3 separate regions of the Homo sapiens genome follow, and regions 2 and 3 are each linked to region 1. Evidence: promoter capture Hi-C in human tissues and cell types (Jung and others, 2019). All regions are on one chromosome and are shown on one strand. The core of a region is centred on a gene start or on the middle of the fragment in contact, and the rest is flanking DNA. Distances in the headings are between cores, read along the strand shown. Region 1 holds the start of PLIN5 (perilipin 5). Region 2 holds the start of DAPK3 (death associated protein kinase 3). Region 3 has its middle 10 kb from the start of PIAS4.

Region 1 (4,213 bases), core at 1,714-4,213:
CCTCTCCAATAACTCACTGGCCAGCGTGCCCGAGGGGCTCTGGGCATCCCTAGGGCAGCCAAACTGGGACATGCGGGATGGCTTCGACATCTCCGGCAACCCCTGGATCTGTGACCAGAACCTGAGCGACCTCTATCGTTGGCTTCAGGCCCAAAAAGACAAGATGTTTTCCCAGAATGACACGCGCTGTGCTGGGCCTGAAGCCGTGAAGGGCCAGACGCTCCTGGCAGTGGCCAAGTCCCAGTGAGACCAGGGGCTTGGGTTGAGGGTGGGGGGTCTGGTAGAACACTGCAACCCGCTTAACAAATAATCCTGCCTTTGGCCGGGTGCGGGGGCTCACGCCTGTAATCCCAGCACTTTGGGAGGCCCAGGTGGGCGGATCACGAGGTCAGGAGATCGAGACCATCTTGGCTAACATGGTGAAACCCTGTCTCTACTAAAAATATAAAAAATTAGCCAGGCGTGGTGGTGGGCACCTGTAGTCCCAGCAACTCGGGAGGCTGAGGCAGGAGAATGGCGTGAACTTGGGAGGCGGAGCTTGCGGTGAGCCAAGATCGTGCCACTGCACTCTAGCCTGGGCGACAGAGCAAGACTGTCTCAAAAAAATTAAAATTAAAATTAAAAACAAATAATCCTGCCTTTTACAGGTGAAACTCGGGGCTGTCCATAGCGGCTGGGACCCCGTTTCATCCATCCATGCTTCCTAGAACACACGATGGGCTTTCCTTACCCATGCCCAAGGTGTGCCCTCCGTCTGGAATGCCGTTCCCTGTTTCCCAGATCTCTTGAACTCTGGGTTCTCCCAGCCCCTTGTCCTTCCTTCCAGCTGAGCCCTGGCCACACTGGGGCTGCCTTTCTCTGACTCTGTCTTCCCCAAGTCAGGGGGCTCTCTGAGTGCAGGGTCTGATGCTGAGTCCCACTTAGCTTGGGGTCAGAACCAAGGGGTTTAATAAATAACCCTTGAAAACTGGATCGGATGAATTGGCTTTCATTGTGTTCCTAGCATCTTCTCAAATCAACTTCCCAGGACTCCAGGGTGAAGGAGGAAAAGAGGCATGGCCCAGGCCCTGGGGTGTGGGATATGGTCTCCCTAGGGGATGACAGTTGGGATCAATGGCCTGTGACTTCTCCTCTCCCTTCCCCCATCCTGGGACCTAACTGGAAATAAAACCTTGACTGTTGCCCGGGTGTCATTTTACCAGTGGATTTCTGCCAGGGCTTGTGTCCTAGGAGAAGGTTTAAGTTAAACCAGATTGCCCAGGTCTCCAAACGATTTGTCATGCTGACCTGAGATCATCGAAGGGGGCACCTGCCCCCGGGCAAGGTTGCAGGGGCAGGATGGGGCTGAAGGGATGAGCAGGGTCCCGGGCCCACCTGCTGATACAGCATTGGCCATGTGGGGGCTGCAATCGGATTTGGAAGACCCTGGGGCTTGGGGGCATGTCCAGTTTTCCCAGCTCCCTAAAAAATGACCATGCAGCCTGGCGCCGTGGCTCATGCCTGTAATCCAAACACTTTGGGAGGCTGAGGCAGGCAGATCACCGGAGGTCAGGAGTTCGAGACCAGACTGGCCAACATGGCAAAACCCTGTCTCTACTAAAAATACAAAAATTAGCCAGGCACAGTGGCACGTGCCTGTAATACCAGCTACTTGGGAGGGTCAGGCAGGAGAATCACTTGAACCTGGGAGGCGGAGGTTGCAGTGAGCCAAGATCACGCCACTGCACTCCAGGCTGGGCGACAGAGTGAAACTGTGTCTCAAAAATAAAAATAAAAATAAAAAGACCATGCCTACATCTGTGGTCATTCCAGGCAAGGCAATGAAAAGGCAGGGTTCTGAGGTCCAGCAGGGCTGGGTTTGAATAGGATCCCTGGCCGGGCACGGTGGCTCATGCCTGTAATCCTAGTACTTTGGGAGGCCAAGGCAGGCAAATCACGAGGTCAGGAGTCCAAGACCAGCCTGACGAATATGGTGACACCCCGTCTCTACTAAAAATACAAAAATTAGCTAGGTGTGGTGGCAGGCGCCTGTAATCCCAGCTACTCCGGAGGCCGAGGCAGGAGAATCACTTGAACCCAGGGGGCGGAGGTTGCAGTGTGTCAAGATCGCGCCACTGCACTCCAGCCTGGGCGACAGAGTCAGACTCTGTCTCAAAAAAAAAAAAAGAAAAAAAAGGAATAGGATCCCTCACTTGCTGTGGTATGCGGGGCAAGTGTTTTATGATCTCTGAGCCTCAGCTTGCTCATCTGTGAAATGGGGATCCTAGGGAAAGGGAAGGCCTGGCTTCTGGCTTAGTTAAGGGGCAGATTAAGAAATAAAAAGAGGCTGGGTGCAATGGCTCACACCTGTAATCCCAGCAATTTGGAAGGCTGAGGTGGAAGGATCACTTGGGGCTCAGGGGTTGAAGACAAGCCTGGTCAACACAGGGACATCTCGTCTCTACAAAAAGTTTAAAAAGTTAGCTGGGGGTGGTGGTGTGTGCCTGTGGTCCCAGCTACTTAGGAGACTGAGGCGGGAGGATCACCTCAGCCTGGGAGGGCAAGGCTGCAGTGAGCTATGATCACACCACTGCACTCTAGCCCTGGGCAACCGAGCAAGACCCAGTCTCAAAAATCGATAAATAATAATAATTAATAAGAAAAGTCATCAGCGAGTTGGCCAAGGTCACTCAGCAGGGCTATGGGGGCTGTGATCGCATGGACTGTCTCTATGGCAACAGCAGTGAGGATGACAGGTGGCCAAACTTGGTCCGGGAACGTATAATAGCTCAATCTTTTGAATCTAGCGCTCCCGAATTACTATGGCAACCGTAGGGCACTGGGCCAGCTCAAGGAGAGGGCGAGGGAAGCCTGGAGCCACGCCCCCTGGGCACGCCCCCGCACGGCCTCTCCCCATTGGTCAGTTCCGGAGGCCCCCACTGCGCGAGCAGCTATAAGAAGGGCGGGCGGGACCGGCGGGGGTGTGGAGACTCGAGCCTGGGGTCGGCGGAGACAGCTGGTGTCTGAAGCCGCTCGCGCCCAGGTGAGTGCCCTGAGGGCGGCGTCCGGGAGCGCCCCCCCGGGCTTAGGAGAGGAGCTCCAGATAGGGTGGTTGGGCGAAGGTCCGGCGGCGTGGGACGGGTATGACCGGCCAGAGCAGGTGGCTGGGACCCTTGGCCCGGTTGGCCCCAGCTCAGGACCCAGTTGGGCGAGGACCAGGCCTCAGAGGACGCGGGGTGGCAACCGGAGGGATCGCAGGCGGCAGGTCTGAGGCCCGAGGTCGAGCTCCCCCCCTGTAACTCTAGCTGGCTGCGTGACCTTGGGACCAGCATGGACCTGCTGCGTACCTCAGTTGCCCTGTCTGTCAAATGAGCTGTGAGTGGACTGGGACCCAGCAGCTACCACCTCCAGCCGTCTAGGGTGCTTGGGCAGTTCTGGGCCCAGGCAGGGGCCGCAGGGGTAGCAGGGACCTCCCACATCTTACAAAACAGGAAGCAGCCCAGAGAGGTGAAGGTGCTTGCCAAAAATCACACAGCTGGCCAGGTGCAGTGTCTCATGCCTGTAATCCCAGCACTTTGGGAGGCCGAGGTGGGCAGATCACTTGAGCCCAGGAGTTTGAGACCAGCCTGGGCAACATGGCGAAACCCGGTTTCTACTAAAAATACAAAAATTAGCCGAGCATGGTGGCACGTGGGTAATCCCAGCTAACTGGGAGGCTGAAGCAGGAGAATCACTTGAACCTGGGAGGCGGAAATTGCAGTGAGCTGGGATGGCGCCACTGCTCTCCAGCCTGGGCGAGAGAGATTCTGTCTTTAAAAAAATAATAAAAATAACACCGCAATTAATGGTAGCATTTGAACCCAGGTCTTTCTCACCTCAGAGACCATGCTTCGAGTCACTCCGGCAACCCTACCTTGCCAGAGGCTCATTATTGGACACCCTCTGTGTACAGAGCTCTGGACATGCATTGTCTGAGCTCCACAGAATGCCCCATTATGCAGATGAAGAAACTGAGGCCCCAAGAGGTTTGAGAGTTGCTCAAGTCACAGAGCCCAATTTGACAGGATCTGATGCCTGGGCAGGTGCTCCCCTTACTCAATCCTGCCCCGCAGGGTGACCCTGTTTGCAGCACGATGTCTGAAGAAGAGGCGGCTCAGATCCCCAGATCCAGTGTGTGGGAGCAGGACCAGCAGGTGAGGGCTGCCCCTCCCATGGAGCAGGGACAGAAGGTATT
Region 2 (4,213 bases), core at 1,036-3,535, 560 kb after region 1:
GTTGGCCAGGCTGGTCTCAAGCTCGACCGTAAGAGATCAGCCCGCCTCAGCCTCCCAAAGTGCTGGGGTTACAGGTGTGAGCCACCATACCGGGTCCTATTCTTTTTTAGTAGTGCAAACGTTAAGATGGTATGTGGAAGCTGAATTTTTTTTTTTTTTTGAGACAGTCTTTGCTCTGTCACCCAGGCTGGAGTGCAGTGGCTCAATCTTGGCTCACTGCAAGCTCCGCCTCCCGGGTTCACGCCATTCTCCTGCCTCAGCCTCCCGAGTAGCCGGGACTACAGGCACCCGCCACCATGCCCGGCTAATTTTTTGTATTTATTAGTAGAGACAGGGTTTCACCGTGTTAGCCAGGATGGTCTTGATGTCCTGACTTCGTGATCTGCCCACCGTGGCCTCCCAAAATGCTGGAATTACAGGCGTTAGCCACCATGCCCTGCCACTTTTTTTTCTTTGAGATGGAGTCTCCCTCCGTCACCCAGGCTGTAGTATAGTGGCATGATCTCGGCTCGCTGCAACCTCCACCTCCTGGGTTCAAGCAATTCTCCTGCGCTAGCCTCCCGAGTAGCTGGGATTACAGGCATGTGCCACCAGGCCTGGCTAACTTTTGTATTTTTAGTAGAGACAGGGTTTCACCATGTTGAGCAGGCTGGTCTTGAACTCCTACTTCAAGTGACCTGCCCGCCTTGGCTGCCCAAGCTGTTGGGATTACGGGCGTGAGCCACCACACCTGGCCAACCCATTGTACGTTGAAAATGTAAATAAAAAATATAAAGGCCGGCTTGTGGCTCACGTCTGTAATCGCAGCACTTTGAGAGGCCGAGGCCGGCGGATCACAGATATTGAGACCATCCTGGCCAACATGGTGAAACCCTGCGTCTACTAAAAATACAAAAATCAGCTGGGAGTGGTGGCGTGCACCTGTAGTCCCAGCTACTCGGGAGGCTGAGGCAGGAGAATCGCTTGAACCCAGGAGGCAGAGATTGCAGTGAGCCCAGATCTCACCACTGCGTTCCAGCCTGGACGATAGAAGGAGACTGTCTCAAAAAAAAAAAAAAAAAAAAAAAAAGGCTGGGCAAGGTGGCTCATGCCTGTAATTCCTGCACTTTGGGAGGCCGAGGCGGGCGGATCAGGAGGTCAGGAGATCGAGACCATCCTGGCTAACACGGTGAAACCCTGTCTCTACTAATAAATACAAAAAATTAGCTGGGCGTGGTGACGGGCGCCTGTAGTCCCAGCTATTCGGGAGGCTGAGGCAGGAGAATGGCGTGAACCTGGGAGGTGGAGCTTGCAGTGAGCCGAGATTGTGCCAGTGTACTCCAGCCTGGGTGACAGAGCGAGACTCCGTCTCAAAATAATAATAAAAAATGAATTTAGGCCGGGCGCAATGGCTCACGCCTGTAATCTCAGCACTTTGGAAAGCTGAGGTGCCGGATCACCTGAGCTTAGGAGTTCGAGACCAGCCTGGGCAACATGGTGAAACCCCGTCTCTACTAAAAATACAAAAATTAGCCGGGCGTGGTGATGGGCACCTGTAATCCCAGCTACTTGGGAGGCTGAGGCACGAGAATCGTTTGAACCCGGGAGGTGGAGGTTGCAGTGAGCTGGATACCGCCGCTGCACTCCTGCCTGGGTGACAGAGTGAGACCCTGTCTCAAAAAATAAAATTAAAAAAAAAACAAACCTGATACCTCCCAGTGTTGTCAGTTGGCACATACTATGTCTCAATAAAATGCTTGCTGTTACCCTCTATTTTGAGACGAAGAGGGACCCTGTGTATGACAACCCCAGATTGACCTCATTTGCATTTTAAGTATTTAGAATGTGGGTAACAGTTTTCAGTGGAGGAAACTGCCACATAGGGACTAAAGCAGTCCCAGGGTCCACTCCAGGAGCTGCCAGGCGCGCTCGGCCACAGGTGAGCCATCCATTCGCCCAACCGGTGCTCCAGGAAGGCAGGAAGCGGGATGCAGGGCTTCAGCCTCACTTCTCGCAGCTTCAGCACCTGGGTCAGAGGAGAGGCGGGCGGGGCGATGAAGGGACCGGAAGTCGGCCTTTTTTCCGTCCGCTTGACCAGCGTCGACTGCAGCCAATGAAATCAGGGATGGCGAGTGTTCAGCCAGTGGTGAGGCTGCATCCGGGTGTGGGTGCCGAAAAGGCAGCTGGGGGCGGGACGTCGAGGTGCGGCACGAGCGGCGGGCGCACCGGCCAATAGGCGGCGGGGTTCGTTTCCCGGGGGTGGGCACTGGCGGGTGCGGTGACGTCGGCGCAGGCGCGTCGCGGCGGCAGGGGCGCGGGGCTTCTGGAGGCGGCGGCGGTGGCCAGCGCGGCGGCGCCGGCCGTATTCTCCGGGCTGCGGAGGGTAAAGAGCGGGCTCGGGCCGAGGCTGGAGGGCTGGGTGGGGCCAGAGCGGCGCTTCGGGGGCCCGCGGAGGACGAGGGAGGGAGAGAATCTGAGGAGCTGGTAGGTTTGGGGACCCATCTGGGTGACCGGGCCGGGGAAAGGGCTCGGCCGGGCGTGCGAGGGGCGTAGCGGCCCCAGGGATGCTGGAGCGGAGCCTTAGGGATGGGCAAGGCCTTGGGGGCGGGGGGAGGTTCTGCAAAGGGAGCCACTGGGGTCTGCCTAGGGGCTTGTGCGGAGATTGCGGGCGAGAAGGGGCAGAGGACGGTGGAGGAGACTCAGATGGGGCCCTTTTTGGCGGCCCGTTTTGGGGGGTAGGGGAGACGGCGGTTGGGGGACTTTGATACATGGAGCGTGGAGGAAGAGGTTAATCTTGCGAGGACAGTGGAGGTCAGCGGGGGAGGGAGGCAAAGTGGGCTTTCAGGAGCGTGGAAGGCGTCGTCCGGTTCTTGGAAAATTCAGAATTGGAGGGAGTCAGAGATGGTTGGGGGTGGGCGGGGGTGTTCCATCGATGAGGGTCTTAAGAGACCTGCCGAGGGCAAGGACCAGGAGGGGTTAAGGTAGTAACTTGGGAATTTTGATCGGAATGGCAGCACTTTGGGAGGCCTGGGACGATCGCTTGAGCCTTGGAGTTCCAGGCTGCAGTGAGCCATGATTGCACCACTGCACTCCAGCCAGGGCGACAGAGCGAGACTCCTTCTCAAAAAACAACAACACCAACAACAAAAGAAGTAGACTTGAGAACTTCGTTAAGACATTGGCCAGGGAGTAAGGTAGCCCTGGGATTTGAGGTTGAGGAGAACGTGCAGGAATGGTGGGGGATTTTGGCTGAGCAGGTTGAGAGAAGTCTAGGAGTGAGAGGCAAAAAAAGACGCAGGCAGCGTCGGGGAAATCAGAATTATGTGTCTGGAGAGAGTTTTGCGGGGTGAAGGTGGCCCAGTGGGGCTGTTACCAAACTTTTGAGTGGTTATGGGGCTCTAAGAGGTGACATGACAGGACCCAGCCCAGTAAACACAGCACCTCTTTTTGTCGAGTTTGGAGCTTCAGAGTGGAGAGGTGGGAGGCTTGTGTTTGCTGGACAGGTCTGTCCATTAATCTAGGAGAAAAGGGTGGTGTCTCAGTTCCTCACTTCTGTCTTTCCCTGTCTTCTCCAGGGTTGCCATTAGGGGACTCCTGAGGTCCTATCTCCAGGCTGCGGTGACTGCACTTTCCCTGGAGTGGAAGCTGCTGGAAGGCGGACCGGCCGCCATGTCCACGTTCAGGCAGGAGGACGTGGAGGACCATTATGAGATGGGGGAGGAGCTGGGCAGGTGAGCTGTCTGCCCGCACGGCTGGGCTCCAGGGATAGGAGAGAGGCGCTGTGGGGTTTTCTGAACAGCAGCTCTCCTTTCCTGTTCTTTATCCTGTATGCTGAGAAGGAATGAGTCAGTATCATGCGGTGGGGGAACGAATTTGGGCCGTGGAGTCAGACAGCCCCGGCTGTGAATTCCTGCTTGGGAATCCTCTGTGTGTTTCCTGTGGGGAGAAAAGTAATTGAGCCGTTACAGCAGCCAAGACCGTGCCTGGCATGGGGCACCAGAGCAACAGATGCCAGCTGCTTTTGTTATTAAAAGATGTGTCTTCTGCCTGGGCAACATAGCAAGACTCCATCCCTACAAAAAATAAAAATGAAAAAAAATTAACCAGGTGTGGTAGCTCATGCCTGTAGTCCCAGCTACTAGGGAAGCTGAGACGGGAGGATGGCTTGAGCCCAGGAGTTGGAGGAGGCTGCAGTGAGCTATGATCGTGCCACTGCACTGTAGCCTGGGCAACA
Region 3 (4,213 bases), core at 684-3,183, 540 kb after region 1:
AAAAAAGAAAAGAAAAGAAAAAAGAAAAACAAATGAGCATGGCTGTGTGCTAGTAAAACTTTATTTTATTTTATTTATTTATTTATGACAAAGTCTTGCTCTGTTGCCCAAGCTGGAGTGCAGGGGCCTGATCTCGGTGCACTGCAACCTCCGCCTCCCAGGTAAAAAAGATTTTCCTGCCTCAGCCTCCTGAGTAGCTGAGTCTACAGGCGCACGCCACCAGGCCCAGCTAATTTTTGTATTTTTAGCAGAGACGGGGTTTCACCATGTTGGCCAGGCTGGTCTTTTTTTTTTTTTTTTTTTAGTATTCATTGATCATTCTTGGGTGTTTCTCGGAGAGGGGGATTTGGCAGGGTCATAGGACACTAGTGGAGGGAAGGTCAGCAGATAAACATGTGAACAAGGGTCTCTGGTTTTCCTAGGCAGCGGACCCTGCGGCCTTCCGCAGTGTTTATGTCCCTGGGTACTTGAGATTAGGGAGTGGTGATGACTCTTAACGAGCATGCTGCCTTCTAGCATCTGTTTAACAAAGCACATCTTGCACCGCCCTTAATCCATTTAACCCTGAGTGGACACAGCACATGTTTCAGCACGGGGTTGGGGGTAAGGTTATAGATTAACAGCATCCCAAGGCAGAAGAATTTTTCTCAGTACAGAACAAAATGGAGTCTCCTATGTCCACTTCTTTCCACACAGACAGCGTAACAATCTGACCTCTCTTTCTTTTCCCCACATTTCCCCCTTTTTCTATTCGACAAAACCGCCATCGTCATCATGGTCTGCTCTCAATGAGCTGCTGGGTACACCTCCCAGACGGGGTGGCGGCCGGGCAGAGGGGCTCCTCACTTCCCAGACGGGGCGGCCGGGCAGAGACGCCCCCCACCTCTCGGACGGGGCGGCTGGCCGGGCGGGGGCTGCCCCCCACCTCCCTTCCGGACGGGGCAGCTGGCCGGGCGGGGGCTGCCCCCGGCCAGGCTGGTCTTGAACTCCTGACCTCGAGTGATCTGCCCTCCTGGACCTCCCAAAATGCTGGGATTACGGGTGTGAACCACTGAGCCAGGCCTGTATGCTAGTAGAACTTCATAAACACAGAAATTTCAATCTTACGTATTTTCACATGTCATGTTATTATTATGCTTTTGTTTGAACATTTAAAAGAGAAAGAAGGCCGGGTGCTGTGGGTCGGGTGTGTAATCCCAGAACTTTTGGAGATCCAGGCAGGAGGACTGCTTGAACACAGGATTTCTACACCAGACTGAGCAACATAATGAGATCCTCTCTCTGCAAAAAATAAAAAATTAAGTAGGCATGGTGGTGCACGCCTACAGTCTTACCTACTCAGGTGGATGGCTTGAGCCCAGGAGTTCCAGGCAGCAGTGAACCGTGATTGTGTCACTGCACTCCAGCCTGGGTGACAGAGAGAGACTCTGTCTCAAAAGTAATAATAATAATAATAATAATAATAATACGCTGGGCGCAGTGGCTCATGCCTGTAATCCCAGCACTTTGGGAGGCCGAGGCGGGCAGATCACGAGATCAGGAGATCGAGACCATCCTGGCTAACACGGTGAAACCCCGTCTCTACTAAAAATACAAAAAATTAGCCGGGCATGGTGGCGGGCGCCTGTAGTCCCAGCTACTCGGGAGGCTGAGGCAGGAAAACGGCGTGAACCCGGGAGGCGGAGCTTGCAGTGAGCCGAGATTGTGCCACTGAACTCCAGCCTGGTTACAGAGCGAGACTCAAAAAAAAAAAAAAAAAAAGATTAGGGCTGAGGGCTGTAGCTTGCTAGTCTTTGTTAGAGATGCTCAGACACAGTGGTGACCACAACAGGCAAAATTCCCTGTCCTCGTGGAACTGGCATTCCAGGAGGGAGATCAACAACAAACAAAATCAAAAGCTAATTAAAGGTCCCGGCGTGGTGGGTCACGCCTGTAATCCCAGCACTTTGGGAGGCTGACATGGGCGGATCACCTGAGGCCCAGAGTTCGAGACCAGCCTGGCCAAGATGGTGAAAACCCATCTCTACCAAAAATAAAAATTTAGCTGGGCGTGGTGGCACACGCCTGTAGTCCCAGCTACTTGGGAGGCTGAGGCAGGAGAGTCACTTGAACCCGGAAGGTGGAGCTTGCAGTGAGCCGAGATGGCACCACTGTACTCCAGCCTGGGCAACAGAGGGAGACTCCATCTCAAAAAAAAAAAAAAAGGCTAAATACAGAACATGTTCAGACACTGATGGGAGGTAGACAGACAAGAAAGAGGAGAGGGAGGCTATGGAAAATCCCCACACGACCAATTTAAAGCTTTACAGCCTGTTTTAGGACAGAATTCATCAGTTCTAAATCAGATCCTTTGCAATTCTGACAAAATTCACAAACCACCTCCACTGTTATGTAAGATACATAGAGATAGATGGAGAGAGGTAGATATAGATACAGATAGTTACTCCCGTTTTGCACTTAAGTAAATGGAGTTGTTTCCTGGGCAAAAATACCTATGAGCTGGGCGCGGTAGCTCAAGCTTGTAATCCCAGCACTTTAGGAGGCCGAGGCGGGTGGATCATGAGGTCAGGAGTTTGAGACCAGCCTGGCCAACATGGTGAAACCCTGTCTCTACTAGAAATACAAAAAAAATTACTGGGGCGTGGTGGCACGCACCTGTAATCCCAGCTACTCAGGATGCTGAGGCAGGAGAATCTCTTGAACCTGGGAGACAGAGGTTGCAGTGAGCCGAGATGAGGACACTGCACTCCAGCCTCGGTGACAGAAGGAGACTCCATCTTTACCAAAAAAAAAAAGTATCAAATTGTGAATTTGGTGTTAGCTGAATATTAAAAGCATCTTAAATTTAAATAAAGTTGTGTGCACGTTTGTATATATGTATTTCAAAACATAGCAATGTATTATCACAATTGATTGCATTTTCTGGCTCTAAAACAGATTGTAGGCCAGGCACAGTGGCTCACTCCTGTAATCCCAGCATTTTGGGAGGCCGAGGCAGGAGGATCACCTGAGGTCAGAAGTTTGAGACCAGCCCACGCAACATGGTGAAACCCCTGTCTCCACTAAAAATACAAAAATTAGCCGGGCATAGTGGCACACACCTGTAATTCCAGCTACTCAGGAGGCTGAGACAGGAGAATCGCTTTAACCCGAGAGGCAGAGGTTGCAGTGAGCTGAGATCATGCTGCTGCACTCCAGCCTGGGCAACACGCGAGACTCCATCTCAAAAAAATAAAATAAATAAGTAAATAAATAAATAAAACAGATTGTATAAACAAATATAATCTAATTGGGGGACAGGTTGGGCGCCGGGGCTTAGGCCTAGAATCCCAGCACTTTGGGAGGCTGAGGCAGGAGGATTGCTTGAGCTCAGGAGTTCAAGACCAGCCTGGGCAACATAGACCCCATCTCTTCAACAATCTTAAAAATACCCAGGTATGGCCGGGCGTGGTGACTCACACCTGTAATCCCAGCACTTTGGGAGGCCGAGGCGGGCAGATCACAAGGTCAGGAGATTGAGACCATCCTGGCTAACACGGTGAAACCCTGTCTCTACTAAAAATACAGAAAAATTAGCCGGGTGTCGTGGCATGCGCCTGTAGTCCCAGATGCTGGGGAGGCTGTGGCAGGAGAATGGTGTGAACCCGGGAGGCGGAGCTTGCAGTGAGCCGAGATGGCGCCACTGCACTCCAGCCTGGGCGACAGAGCGAGACTCCATCTCAATTTAAAAAAAAACAACAAAAAACCCAGGTATGGTGGCGTGAACTTGTAGTCCCAGCTAATCGGGAGGCTGAGGTGAGAGAACTGCTTGAGCCTGGGAGGTCGAGGCTGCAGTGAGCTATGATCACACCAGTGCACTCCAGCCTGCGTAACAGTGAGATGCTGTCTAAAGATAAATAAGTAAATAATTGAATTGGGAGTTAAGGAATTTGTTCTCTCTCCCACCACCCCACCCTCAGGGCATTTTCTCAGGGACACAGAAGTCTCTTTCATAGGAATAACCACCCGCCTACTATTTTTTTTTCTTTTTGAGACTGAGTCTCACTCTATCACCCAGGCTGGAGTGCAGTGGCAATATCTTGGCTCTCTGCAACCTCCGCCTCCTAGGCTCAAGCAATCCTCCCACCTCAGCCTCCTGAGTAGCTGGTTTTATAGCCACACGCCACCATGCCCAGCTAATTTTTTTGCAGTTTTTGTAGAGATGAGGAGAATT

The links. The method cuts DNA at HindIII sites, captures the fragments that hold promoters and counts their contacts. A contact is called where the count stands out against the background at its distance.
Region 2: the fragment with the promoter of DAPK3 here is called in contact with the fragment with the promoter of PLIN5 in region 1 in 1 of the 25 tissues and cell types used here (spleen).
Region 3: a contact is called between a fragment that was not itself captured here and the fragment with the promoter of PLIN5 in region 1, in 2 of the 25 tissues and cell types used here (bladder and spleen).

What each region holds. Positions count from the first base shown.
Region 1 is chr19:4,533,974-4,538,186 of GRCh38, reverse strand. PLIN5 (perilipin 5) reads left to right here and starts at 2,963. Exons shown (of 8, transcript NM_001013706.3): 1 at 2,963-3,022; 2 at 4,092-4,172. The coding sequence starts at 4,113. LRG1 (leucine rich alpha-2-glycoprotein 1) reads left to right here. Exons shown (of 2, transcript NM_052972.3): 2 at 1-1,785. The coding sequence ends at 247. RefSeq lists an enhancer at 3,257-3,812. The HindIII fragment of the contact is 58,476 bases long and covers 1-4,213 here.
Region 2 is chr19:3,969,171-3,973,383 of GRCh38, reverse strand. DAPK3 (death associated protein kinase 3) reads left to right here and starts at 2,285. Exons shown (of 9, transcript NM_001348.3): 1 at 2,285-2,463; 2 at 3,555-3,710. The coding sequence starts at 3,649. RefSeq lists silencers at 2,301-2,430, 3,419-3,713 and enhancers at 2,602-3,233, 3,234-3,863. The HindIII fragment of the contact is 13,824 bases long and covers 1-4,213 here.
Region 3 is chr19:3,995,540-3,999,752 of GRCh38, reverse strand. No RefSeq gene overlaps it. Among named protein-coding and RNA genes, the nearest start is that of PIAS4, 10 kb to the left of the region's middle. RefSeq lists an enhancer at 269-914. The HindIII fragment of the contact is 5,265 bases long and covers 1-4,213 here.